Regions from separate parts of the Homo sapiens genome. Here region 2 is linked to region 1. Evidence: promoter capture Hi-C in 16 types of primary human blood cells and fetal thymus (Javierre and others, 2016). All regions are on one chromosome and are shown on one strand. Each heading gives the region's core, a stretch centred on a gene start or on the middle of the fragment in contact. The rest is flanking DNA. Distances are from core to core; before and after follow the strand shown.

What was found. Contacts are between HindIII fragments. The CHiCAGO score rates a contact against its expected background, and 5 or more counts as called.
Region 2: a fragment that was not itself captured here is called in contact with the fragment with the promoter of PTTG1IP in region 1 in 1 of 17 cell types (naive CD4 T cells); the score reaches 5.0 in naive CD4 T cells.

The regions. Positions count from the first base shown.
Region 1 is chr21:44,871,402-44,876,939 of GRCh38, reverse strand. PTTG1IP (PTTG1 interacting protein) reads left to right here and starts at 3,250. Exons shown (of 6, transcript NM_004339.4): 1 at 3,250-3,438. The coding sequence starts at 3,324. RefSeq lists enhancers at 2,293-2,970, 3,128-3,628, 3,629-4,129 and a silencer at 2,887-3,536. The HindIII fragment of the contact is 6,566 bases long and covers 465-5,538 here.
Region 2 is chr21:44,803,253-44,808,790 of GRCh38, reverse strand. It overlaps SUMO3 (small ubiquitin like modifier 3), which reads left to right. Exons shown (of 4, transcript NM_006936.3): 4 at 1,751-3,174. The coding sequence ends at 1,840. LINC01424 (long intergenic non-protein coding RNA 1424) reads right to left here. Exons shown (of 2, transcript NR_109928.1): 2 at 4,074-5,044. Among named protein-coding and RNA genes, the nearest start is that of LINC01424, 3.8 kb to the right of the region's middle. RefSeq lists a silencer at 1,470-1,623. The HindIII fragment of the contact is 2,494 bases long and covers 2,363-4,856 here.

The sequences.
Region 1 (5,538 bases), core at 2,001-4,500:
GTAGCCAAGAGGATTCTTCCAGTATCAGTGGAAGACTCTGACCATATTTGATCAAGTACTGCCTTTAGTAGGTTTTGTAATTCTTCATTATTCAATAATTCAGTGTCTTCTAGGGCAATTAGGGATCGCAATTGGGTTAGATTTTGAAACTTTTTTTATGTCTAGTAACTCAGCTTTCTCATCTAATTCTAAATACGTCTTCCCCCTTTGGGAGAAAGAAACGTGGATATTGTAATTCTAAGAAGTCTCCTTTTATAAGATGGCTGGCAGCTGATAGAACCAGAAGGAAAATGTGAGTCCCTTGTAAAGGACCTAGTTGAAAAGCTATAGGCTGAGATTTACGTGCCGTTACAGGCGTATTAGTGACACCTACCCTTTGAACTTTTTTTTGACTCCAAGGAATGGAACCTTGTAACAAGATGGGATTTATTACAGAAAACACGGCTGCTCTATCAGCAAAAGCTTATGTCAGCAATGGGAACTCGTGTTAACTATTTTAAATAATTTTTATGGCCAGGCGTGGTGGCTCACGCCTGTAATCCCAGCACTTTGGGAGGCTGAGGCAGGTGGATCACAAGGTCAGGAGTTCAAGACCAACCTGGCCAATATGGTGAAACCCCATTTCTACTAAAAATACAAAAATTAGCCGGGCGTGGTGGTGCGTGCCTGTGGTCTCAGCTGCTCGGGAGGCTGAGGCAGAGGAGTCGCTTGAACCTGGGAGGCGGAGGTTGCAGTGAGCCAAGATTGAGCCATTGCACTCCAGCCTGCGCAACAGAGCGAGACTCCGTCTCAAAAAAAAAAAAATTATTTTTCCCAAAGTAGAGGCAGGGTCACACACTCGGGTATTTAAATTCTCTGGGAAAACCAGTGGGGTCCTGGTGAGCATCAGGAAATTCCTTGATTATACTTTTAAGTTCTACCTTTGACCATAACTCATGAACTAGGGCACATAGTTGTCCCCTATGAGAGACACTGGCTGTTTGAGCAATGGCCCCAAAACAGGAGGAGGAGGAGGAAGAAAGGTGGGTCTGGGCGAGGTAATTCAGACAACAAAGGATAAAGAGAAGGAGCTGAGGGAGGAGGGGGAGAAATTTCAGTAGTCTTTTTTAAATTCAGAAATTATTTTAGATAATTTTTGTTTTTCTCTCATAAATACCTTTATTAGAACTTCTTTTGGATGCTTCCAACTACCATAAAAAATAACTCTCCCAAAGATTCCGTTTTATCCTAGAGCCAGCGTTTTCCAATTGAGCAAACAAGTAAATTACCTTGGTGTTCCAATGGTACCCGGCTTTGGTCACTGAAATGTTTTTTCTCAAGTTACGTGAGACCATTTTTCTAAATATAACGAGAGGTGGCACCATAAGCACTGCACAGGAAACCAGCTGGAGTTTCCAAAGATGGGTCCTCCCTGAAGGAGAAAGACTTGTTTTGGATGGACGATTGCCTATGAGTTCTCTTAAGTGACAAAAGACTGTAAGGGAAAATCTGGTTACTCAAGAAGAAAGTTTAGACATGTCAAATTGAACTCAGCTCCAGAGCCTGGCCAGTTTTAAGGATTACAAATTTTGCTTAAGCCACGATTCGCTGCTTCTTTTCAAAGAGAAACTGCTTTCCCCTTCTCCAAATCTGAAGGACAAAAAAGGTTGCAAACTTTAGCAAGACGAACAAAACCTTAACCTCGAAGGATAGTGTTAACCACACACCTGCAAACAGCTGACTCTTTGGAGAAATAACAAACGAAACTCTTGCCTTAAAACCAAGCCTCAACTCCAGCCCTATCAGGTGTGGACCTGGGTAGGCGGAACAGAGTCTGAACCTCAGCCCTGGGAGGCTGCCAGAGACCCCGGCCAGGTTCCCAGGCGGTCCGGTGAACCAAGGCCGCTCCGCGGGTGCCAGCGCTCCGAGTGCCAGAGAAGTGGCTCGGATCACAAGAGGCTGGCTTCGGAGCCATCTGCAGGCGCCCAAATCCCAACCTAAAATCACCACAGGGTCAGAATCTAATGTAAGGGGGGGTTATTCAAAGGCAGTTGGAGGCTGGCCCACCCGGAAACACCGGCTCCAGAGGAATGGAGTCCGCCCTCGGAAGCGGGGAGGGGAAGGGTGCCCTCGGGCAGGCAGAGGCGGAGGCTTTTAGCAGGACCGCGGCGTCCTTCCTACGAGGTGGGCGCAGTCCTCGCGTTTGATGGACGACGGGCAGTGCCTGCTTCAGGGAAGGGTGCGGCAGTCACGGTTTCCCGTCTTCTGGTCTAAGCAGTGCAGAAAACAGGGAAGTTCATCTACAAGGGTCATGAACTAAGAAGGCAGGAGGTTTCTGTCCCCGGCACCGGCGAATCCCGGACCCGAGAAAGGAGCTACGGGCGCACAGAAGCGGGCGGCCCCGGCTCTCGCGGGGCTTAAAGCGCGCAGTGTGTTCGGGTTCACACCTCTAAATGTATTTTTGCCATTTCTTAAGTAGCCTTAAAAATGTCCGTCACTATTTAGTCCTTTTATCAACCGAGGGGCCCGGAAGGCCGCAGCGAGGGCGTCGGCGAGAAGCCATGGAGGAGAAACGGCGCTTCTCTCGGGAGTTTAGGTGGCAGCTTCAGCAGCACACGTTTCAGCCCATTCTGGGGCCGTTTCTAGTGTGGTTAACGTACAAAAATAAACAAATCCCCTAAAAGTCCCACGCGGACATCGGCGGGAGCCCAGGGCCGGACGCCGCGGTGTGGAGCGAGGGCGCCGGCGCGGACTATGAGGGCCCACCGCGCCTCGTCCAGGGCTCACTTAAGAGCAGCGTGAGCAGCGCTTGGGACCGCCGTCCGGGACGCCCGCAGCCCTTTAGGATGGAGGCCACCGTGACCTCCGCCACCGAAGCACCGCGCTCCCCTAGTCCCCTCAGCCGGTCGCCGTTCCCCGCCGCGCAGGCGCAGGAGCCGCGGCGAGCCCCTCGGTCACGCCTCGCCCCTCGGTCACGCCTCGCCCCTCGGTCACGCCTCGCCCCTCGGTCACGCCTCGCCCCTCGGTCACGCCTCGCCCCTCGGTCACGCCTCGCCCATCCGCGCCGCGCAGGCGCACTGAGCCTCAGCCGCTCTCCTCGCTACCAGGCTCCTTTCCTCTATCGCGCAGGCGCACTGAACCTCAGCCGCGCCGGGAGGCGAGCCCGTTGGCGAGGGGCGGGGCAGATGGCGAGGGAGCGGGGCGAGCTGCTTTTTGAGGCTGCGCACTCGCATGGCCCCACCTCGCAGGTCCACTTCCGGCGCCGCGGCTGTTCCGGGCGGAGACCGCTTGTGCTGGAGTCGGAGTTGTAACGCTCCACTGACTGATAGAGCGACCGGCCGACCATGGCGCCCGGAGTGGCCCGCGGGCCGACGCCGTACTGGAGGTTGCGCCTCGGTGGCGCCGCGCTGCTCCTGCTGCTCATCCCGGTGGCCGCCGCGCAGGAGCCTCCCGGAGCTGGTGAGGGCGCCGGGGCGGGCGGGGCCGCGAAGGGGGCGGGGCGGCTGGTGGGTCCAGGTCGGGGTCGGGGTCGGGGTTTCGGCCAGGGCGCTGGGCTCGGCGGGCGGCCTGGGCCCACGGTCGCAGGCAGCGCCCCGACGGAGGCTCCTCGAGGGTCACGCCCGTTTGGCGGCCGCGGGAGCTGCCGTCGCGGCTGGGGCGCGGGCAGGGGAAGAGCCGTCTTTGTCTTTGTCTTTGTTTTGTCCAGTCGCTGCGGCCGCTCCTCGCGCGTGGCCTCGGGTTGGCCCTCGCCCGGCAGGCGGGACGCTTGGCACCTGCGGCCTCCCTTAGCCTCACTGCGACCCCAAACAGCACTCCTCGGGTTCGATCCCGAGCCGGGAAGCCGGCTCACGACGTGTTCGAGGTCGCACAGCTGGTCGGGGGCAGGCCGGGATGGCGGCCGCAGGCCCCTGCAGGGTGATGGGGCCGCGGCCGGTGTGTCTCTACAGCCGCCGGCGTTCACGCCGCCACTCCCTCCCGGCCGCAGTTCCACGCACAGCAGCGAACGCTCGCACTTATGCCTTAGAAAGGAAGGCGTCCCCAAAGCCAGGCTGTAGCATCTGATTTTGAAGCAAGCTGATTGCGGTTCTACGCTGTCCAGACGCGCAGGTGGCATTCTTCATCGTTTATCCCGTCTGCACCAGGCCCTGCGGCCACAGTGGTGACCGACAGCCAGAGCTCCTATCCAAGAGGAGCTGAGTCCCCGGGAGGCTGACCAAGAAAGAAGCAGTGAGGGCGCGGGGGCTGGGGGAGGAAAGTGCATGACAGGAGACTCAGAGTTCCAGAAACCGGCAGTGTTTATAGAGGGTGGCTTCCTGTGGGGCTGGGCCTCCAGGGCCTGGTGGGCTGCGGGAAAATCCAGCAGGTTCTAAGCTGGAGAGTGTCATGGTTGGACCTGTTTCACAATGTCATGCTGGCTTCCGTGTGTGGAGTTTCCAGGTGACCACTAGTGGTGGGGAATAGTGCCACCTTAACTTCAGTTTCCTGACCCTTACAATTAGGGTTGACCTGGGCCCAGCTTGAGGGGCTAATACTTTTCTCAGCTCTTGTTAGCCCAGGCTCTGTCAGTGTCTGTTTAGCATAGTAGAGCACCTTTTCTTTTTGTGACCTTATGGAATGTTTATTCCGATGCAGGATTATTTGTGTTTCTTCTTACCTGCCTCCAAGTGTGCTTAGGGTTTGTGACGTTAGCAATGCAGCTGCCTTGAAGTTTGTTAGTCAAGGAGGCCAGTGGGACTGTACTGGGAACTTTTGGCCCAGATTGAGTTCTAAGCGCAAATGTGCAGTGAATACGTTTCCACAAACAGAATGGGCGTCTGCAGGCAGAGTGTGTGATTCACTGGCAACTGTATCAGTGGCTCGGGGGTGTGTTTGCTTGCATTGTGAAAGCGGGAGTGTCAGGAAAACAACCATGAGGTTTTGTTTGACTGTGATTCCTCCTGCTCTGCACTGCTGAAGGGTGCAGAGATGGGTGTGGACGAGTGGAGTGGACAGTGTGGGAATTAATCCGGAACTGCCATTCGGTGTGTCAGCTGAAAAGCCATTCGGTGTGTCTGCACTTGGAGGCTGCACTTGCTTGCTTCCACTTATGGTAATCACCAAGTCCTGGTGGGTGGACTGTTGTTTCTCTCACTGGGGACCCCTTGGAATAGGAAGAATGGTGCCGTGTCATGTTGGCATTCACTGCCCAGGCGCCTTTGGTGTCTGCGTGCCCCTTGTCCTTGGAGAGAGGGGCTATTTATAGCCTGGAGAACTCCCCTCTTCCCACAGAGTACTTGCTTGGTGTGAGATTTTTACTGCTTGTCATGGTTACAGGAATGTGACCGCAGTACTGATGTTTAAAACGTTTTGTCTCCTTTACAAGGACACTGTGTGAATTTAGAGAATACATTATACCAATCCAAATCCAACACTTTTAAGCATCTTTTTATGTGTTTTGATGGAGGAGAGACATTAAGAACCCATGGTGTATTGAAGATCTTTAGAGCAAGATTCTTGAAGTTAAACCTGGATAGGGCTTTTGGACCCCACTTTATTTGTGTATGGGGTCAGACTCAATCC
Region 2 (5,538 bases), core at 2,360-4,859, 69 kb after region 1:
TGCAAGGACCACTCAGCGGCCCCTTCCCACTCATTGTCTGGACGCTTGCTGTTGTAGCCCGTGTGCAGCTTAGGGGCCAGCTGGATTCTTGTGCCCTTTAAGCATCTTGCACAAGTGACGTGGGTGGGCAGAATGTGCCATAACCCCTGATTATCAGTCTGCACAGCTCGTTTCTCTCAGGCACATGCAGACATGAATGAGATTTCATCTATCACGTTGCAGGGCATCATACTGTCATGGAAAGAGCTTTGGACCTGGAAACAGACTTTTTTTTTTGAGACGGAGTCTCGCTTTGTTGCCCAGGCTAGAATGCAGTGGCGCAGTCTCAGCTCACTGTGCAAGCTCTGCCTCCTGAGTTCACGCCATTCTCCTGCCTCAGCCTCCCAAGTAGCTGGGACTATAGGTGCCCACCACCACTCCCGGCTAATTTTTTTGTATTTTTAGTAGAGACGGGGTTTCACCATGTTAGCCAGGATGGTCTCGATCTCCTGACCTTGTGATCTGCCCACCTCAGCCCCCCAAAGTGCTGGGATTAAAGGCATGAGCCAACGCGCCCGGCCGAAACAGAGTTTTTTTTTAAACTTGGTTCAAGTTGCAGCTCTTGTCATTTGTCAGCTGATGGCCCCGTGACCAAGCATCACTTCATCTTGTGGAGTCTCAGTTTTGTCTGTCCATAAATGGAACCAATACCTGCTTTTTCTCCCTTTCAATGTTGTGAGAATCCACTGGAATGTTTTATGTGGAAATATTTTTGCAAAACATTTAAGATTTTAAATATTTACTATTCAGTATTTAATAAATATTGAAAACATCTTTGCAACAAGTATCCATTTGTACCTACTTGAGGAAACCTACACACCGCTGAGGCAGTGGCAGCTCTGGGAGTGTTCACCAGGGAGAAGCTGCTGAGAGCAGCTGAGCAGGGAGGGCCTCGTGGAGTCTCTGGGGCTTGACTGGGGGTCAGGGGGCTGGCTGTGGACAGGTGGACCGAGAGGCAGAGGGAGCCCTGCCTGGGGGCTCTCCCTCCAGCCCATAGTGTCGGTGGCAGGGTGAGGGTGGCCGACAGCCCTGATGGGACTCCTTTCCATCTGGGAGCATGACTACTTCCAGCCTTGCTGAGTCTGTGTAGGAACTGGCAGAAGCTTCCTCTTGCTTAGAGGATGGAAGAAGATCAGGGTGGGTGTTTTGCGCCCACTGTGTCAGGAGGAGAGAAGTGAGCGGGGGTGTTTCACTACCTTGCCTGGGCTTTAAATGGGGAGGGGCGGGGAGAAGCTGGCAATGGACCCTCACTTGACGGGCCCTTCTGTGAGCTGGGGGCTTTGGCTTTCATGGCATGGTCCCCCGCACTTGGTATAAAGCGCAAGGCTCCTGTGGGTCCTAGGACTCAGTGCTGCTAATCAGATGTTCTTAATTAGAATCTGATTTTGTGTAATTTTCAGTAAGAATTTTAGACATTTCAGTTTATCTTCTAGACTCAGTTTTTCTCTCAGTTAACATTTTAGCTTTGAATCTGCTTTTGTGAGTTTTGTTAGGGGAAGCTTGTTGAACCGTAAGGGCTGTAGTGAGCATACAGCAATGCCTCTTCCATGCGTGCTGAGCTGCAGTGAGGGGACGGACAAGAGCCAAGGTGTGACCAGGTGATGTCGCTAGTGTCAGGGAACACTCATGCCAGTGAGGATCTTCCCACTCTCTGATGAAAACTAACAGGCTCCCCTCTCTCTCGCTGTGCCTGTTGTGACAACCATGACAGCTGGAGATGGAGGACGAGGACACCATCGACGTGTTCCAGCAGCAGACGGGAGGTGTGCCGGAGAGCAGCCTGGCAGGGCACAGTTTCTAGAGGGCCCGTCCCCAGCCCGGGCCGTCCATCCTCGCATTGCTGTTGAATGGTGAGCACGTGACCATGCCGACCACAAAGGTGTCTGCGGAAACTCGAGGACATTCACCACGATGATTTTCCTCTCTTTGATGTACTTCAAGTGCAACTCAAAACTATATCTGCAGGGATGAATCTGTAACTTAAATTGGGCCAATCAGAATTGTTATCTTTGTTCAGGTAAAATGAGTTGCAAGATATTGTGGGTACTTTTGTGTGCTCATTTGTGTTTTCCCCCCCTCCTACAACATTTTTTTAACCCCAAAATTATAGCCTGAATGTTCGCTTTTAGTCTGGCCAGGGATCTGACTCCTGAGTTGGTTGCCTCTCCCCTGCTCACTCCAGTCACATAGAGAATTGGTGTTTCCCGCAGTGGGGATGCAGCTGTTGGACAGGTATTGGGGGCAAGGTTGGTAGGGAGGACAGACTGTCACTTGCTGTTACAGGCACAGGTGATTAAAATGCTAAATATTGCAAATTTAAGCTTTGTCAGTATATGGAAAAGTTGAAGGGAAAATACTGGAATGCTTCTTCAAAGGTTAAAAAATAACCGAGTCTTTTGGTAATTTGACCCCACGTGCTCTCTGGCCCTCAAGCATGTAACCTCGGGGTCTGAGGCCCAGGACCCACCCCCCTGCCACCCCTCCCACCCCACTCCCTGCTCAGTACCTGGCGTTGGTACACAGGCAAGGATTGGCACAACCAAAATTGGCCTTTTTCTCCCTCTTAATATTGAAGAAATTCCCACATTTCTCATTTGGTAATGGTGTTGTGGCCTCAGATTTCTTCTAGTATTTGCTTCTGATGAATGATTATGGTCTATACATAAAAAAGTAAGACTAAGTATTGCTGAATTTGCAGTTATGTTGTCGTGTATAAGAGCTACTTCCAAGTGTGGTTACAAATGAACCCATGGAATGATGACTTCATGTTCTTCTCGTGGGTTTGTGCCGTGCTGCTTTCCAAATAGGTATTGAATTTATGCATTAGTCTGGTGATTTCAGTTCTGTGAAATATTTTGGGATCTATACCAATTAAACATTTTCATAGTTCTGCCTATTGTCCTTCCCTGAGGCTCCATTGCTGCTTGGTGGCCATTCTCTGCCTTTTTACAGTCACCTGAACAATGACCCATCATCTCTTGCTTGCTTGAAATCTTGCTGAAATGTTCTCATTTCCTGTTTGCTGTATGGGCTCGGGTGGGATGTTTGTTGGCTCTGTTGTGTTTATTCACCAATTTGTACATTATTTGTTGTCCTTTACTACTGTAAACAGTAAATATAGTTTGGTATTCTGTCTCTTGGCTTCTACTAAACACTGCATTTGAAGGTTGGGGCATACTGGTACAATTCAGTGTTTGAATTGACCATTCCAGGCAGCCACTGCACTGAGAAACTTTGATTGAAAAGCTAGCCGCTGGAAGGTTAGTATTCGCCTGGCAGCTCATTTCCCCTCCCCTGGCACATCACCAATGCTAGTCCAGCCTTCTTCCTGCTGAGGGATGCATCCTCTCCTCAGAGACCTCCTGGCTGACAGCTGTCTGAGCTGGCATCACTGTGACATGTTACCCTCCCTCTCCTGGGTTTCGTATGTAAAGAAAGGGTGGATTTTAGAGGCAGGTGAGCTTGGGTGTTAGTCTAGGACATCTCTCGTTTTCTGGTGTTTGAATGTAAGTCAGCTTTCCTTCTGCCATGGACAACTTACCTATCTGCTTTGAAACTGAACTGACATTGATTTGGCTTTAAGAATTTCCCAGTGTGCAGTGGTGTAACAAAACCCAGGTTGAAAATGAGCTGTTTTAGCCCATCAGTTGAATGAACCCAAGGTGAAGAAAGATGGGCAGCTGTGGAGATGGAACACGTGATTCACTTGCACCAGGAAGAGTGCACGGATTAAGGCACAATACAGGATGGGGACATCTGCCAGATTCCCTAGGCAGCCTGGGGCGAAGCGGCTGCCAAAATCAATGAGGAAAGGGATGTGTCCCAGGCACCGTAGGTTAGATAAGAATAATGGCCAGGAGCATATGTGGATGTATTAGGGCAGCGCTGCTTGAACTTCCACCCACAACACCTCACAGCAGAACCAGCAGGATGTCCTGTCTTTCTAAAAAAGATTTGTAGAGATGGAGCTCTCACTATATTGCTGTATTAGTGCATCCTCACATTACTATAAAGAACTACCTGAGACTGGGTAATTTATAAAGAAAAGAGGTTTAATTGACTCATAGTTCTGTAGGCTGTACAGGAAGCATGGCTAGGGAGGCCTCAGGAAACTTATAATCATGGCAGAAGAGGAAGGGCATGGACACAAATCCAAACCATAAATCAGTTGCCCAAGCTGATCTCAGACTCCTGGCCTCAAGTGATCCTCGTGCCTCAGCCTGCCAAGTAGTTGGGATTACAGGCATGAGCCATGGTGCCCAGCAAAGGTATGTTCTTGAAGTTGTCTTTTTTCTGAGATTTATGCAAATGGTGCATTTGGAAAAATAGATCTGTTGGGATTACTATTTTCAACAAGATTACTTATGTGAAACTGACTCCAAGAATCTTTGGGTTAAATTGATGCTCCTGGAGGAGAGAGGCCCTATTTATCCTAGTATCTATGCCTGGGGTCCCAACTGGAACTTCTCCAGTTTTTGCACCGAAAGGTTCACATCCCAGGAACCCCCACTCCCAGGGAACTTGAGTTGTCATCTTAGCCATGCTGCAGGAGTGCCCAGCTGGAAACGCGTGATGTTCATGGGAAAACCCCACCGTATAACATGGGTTAAGCTGTGAGGTCCTTTTTATATTTCAGAACTTTAGTTGCTAAAGATAGAAAGCATTAATTTTATTCTGTACAGTTGGCCTCCCCAGGGTGTGCTGCCCTGCAGTATCACACACTGGCTGCTCAGAGTCCCTGGGACTCCACTACCACTTGATCCAAGTTGAGAGTTCCACGAGTTAGCCAGTTAAAACATAGGATGCCCAGCTAAGCTTGAATTCCACATAAGGTACTGAACGACGTCCCTGAAATGTTGCAGAGAGCCTGGTTCTCTGAAGATAAGGTGTTGTAACAGTCCTGTTGAGGGGAGAGACTGCCATCTTGTTTCAGCAACTCATATTTCAAGTGACTTTTGTCACTTGAAGCTGAAGCTAATCCTGATAGAAGCTGTAAACCACATTTCTGAAAAATAATAATTGGAAAACATACAGTGTTCTGCAGTAAGATGTCTGAAAAAGATGGATAAAATTATGAAAACATCAAGCATATGTTGCAGTGAACATCACGGCATTGACAGTAATGCTTTATTGCCCACATCTCCCATAACTGGAAAAGGGGAGCTGCTCTCCTTTAGGAGCACTGGACAGACTGCCTTGGGGTGTGGGGTGCTGTCTGATTAGAGAGAGAGCAGCTCTTGAATGGGGGAGGAAACACCTCCACTGTGACTTTTTGCACATTGCATTTGCACAAATTACTCTCTGAAACAGTCTCAAAGGACCATGTCATTTTATAAAGCACTGTGGTCATTTGAAAAGATGGAGGTAGACTGAAATTTTGAATTTTGGGGAATTTTCCTACACTATGCATACTTGTGAAGTTTGTATTGTTAAATTTCATTTGATTTGACAAATCCGTGTTAAGAGTATACGATGTCCAGGTACAGAGGCTGCCCCAGA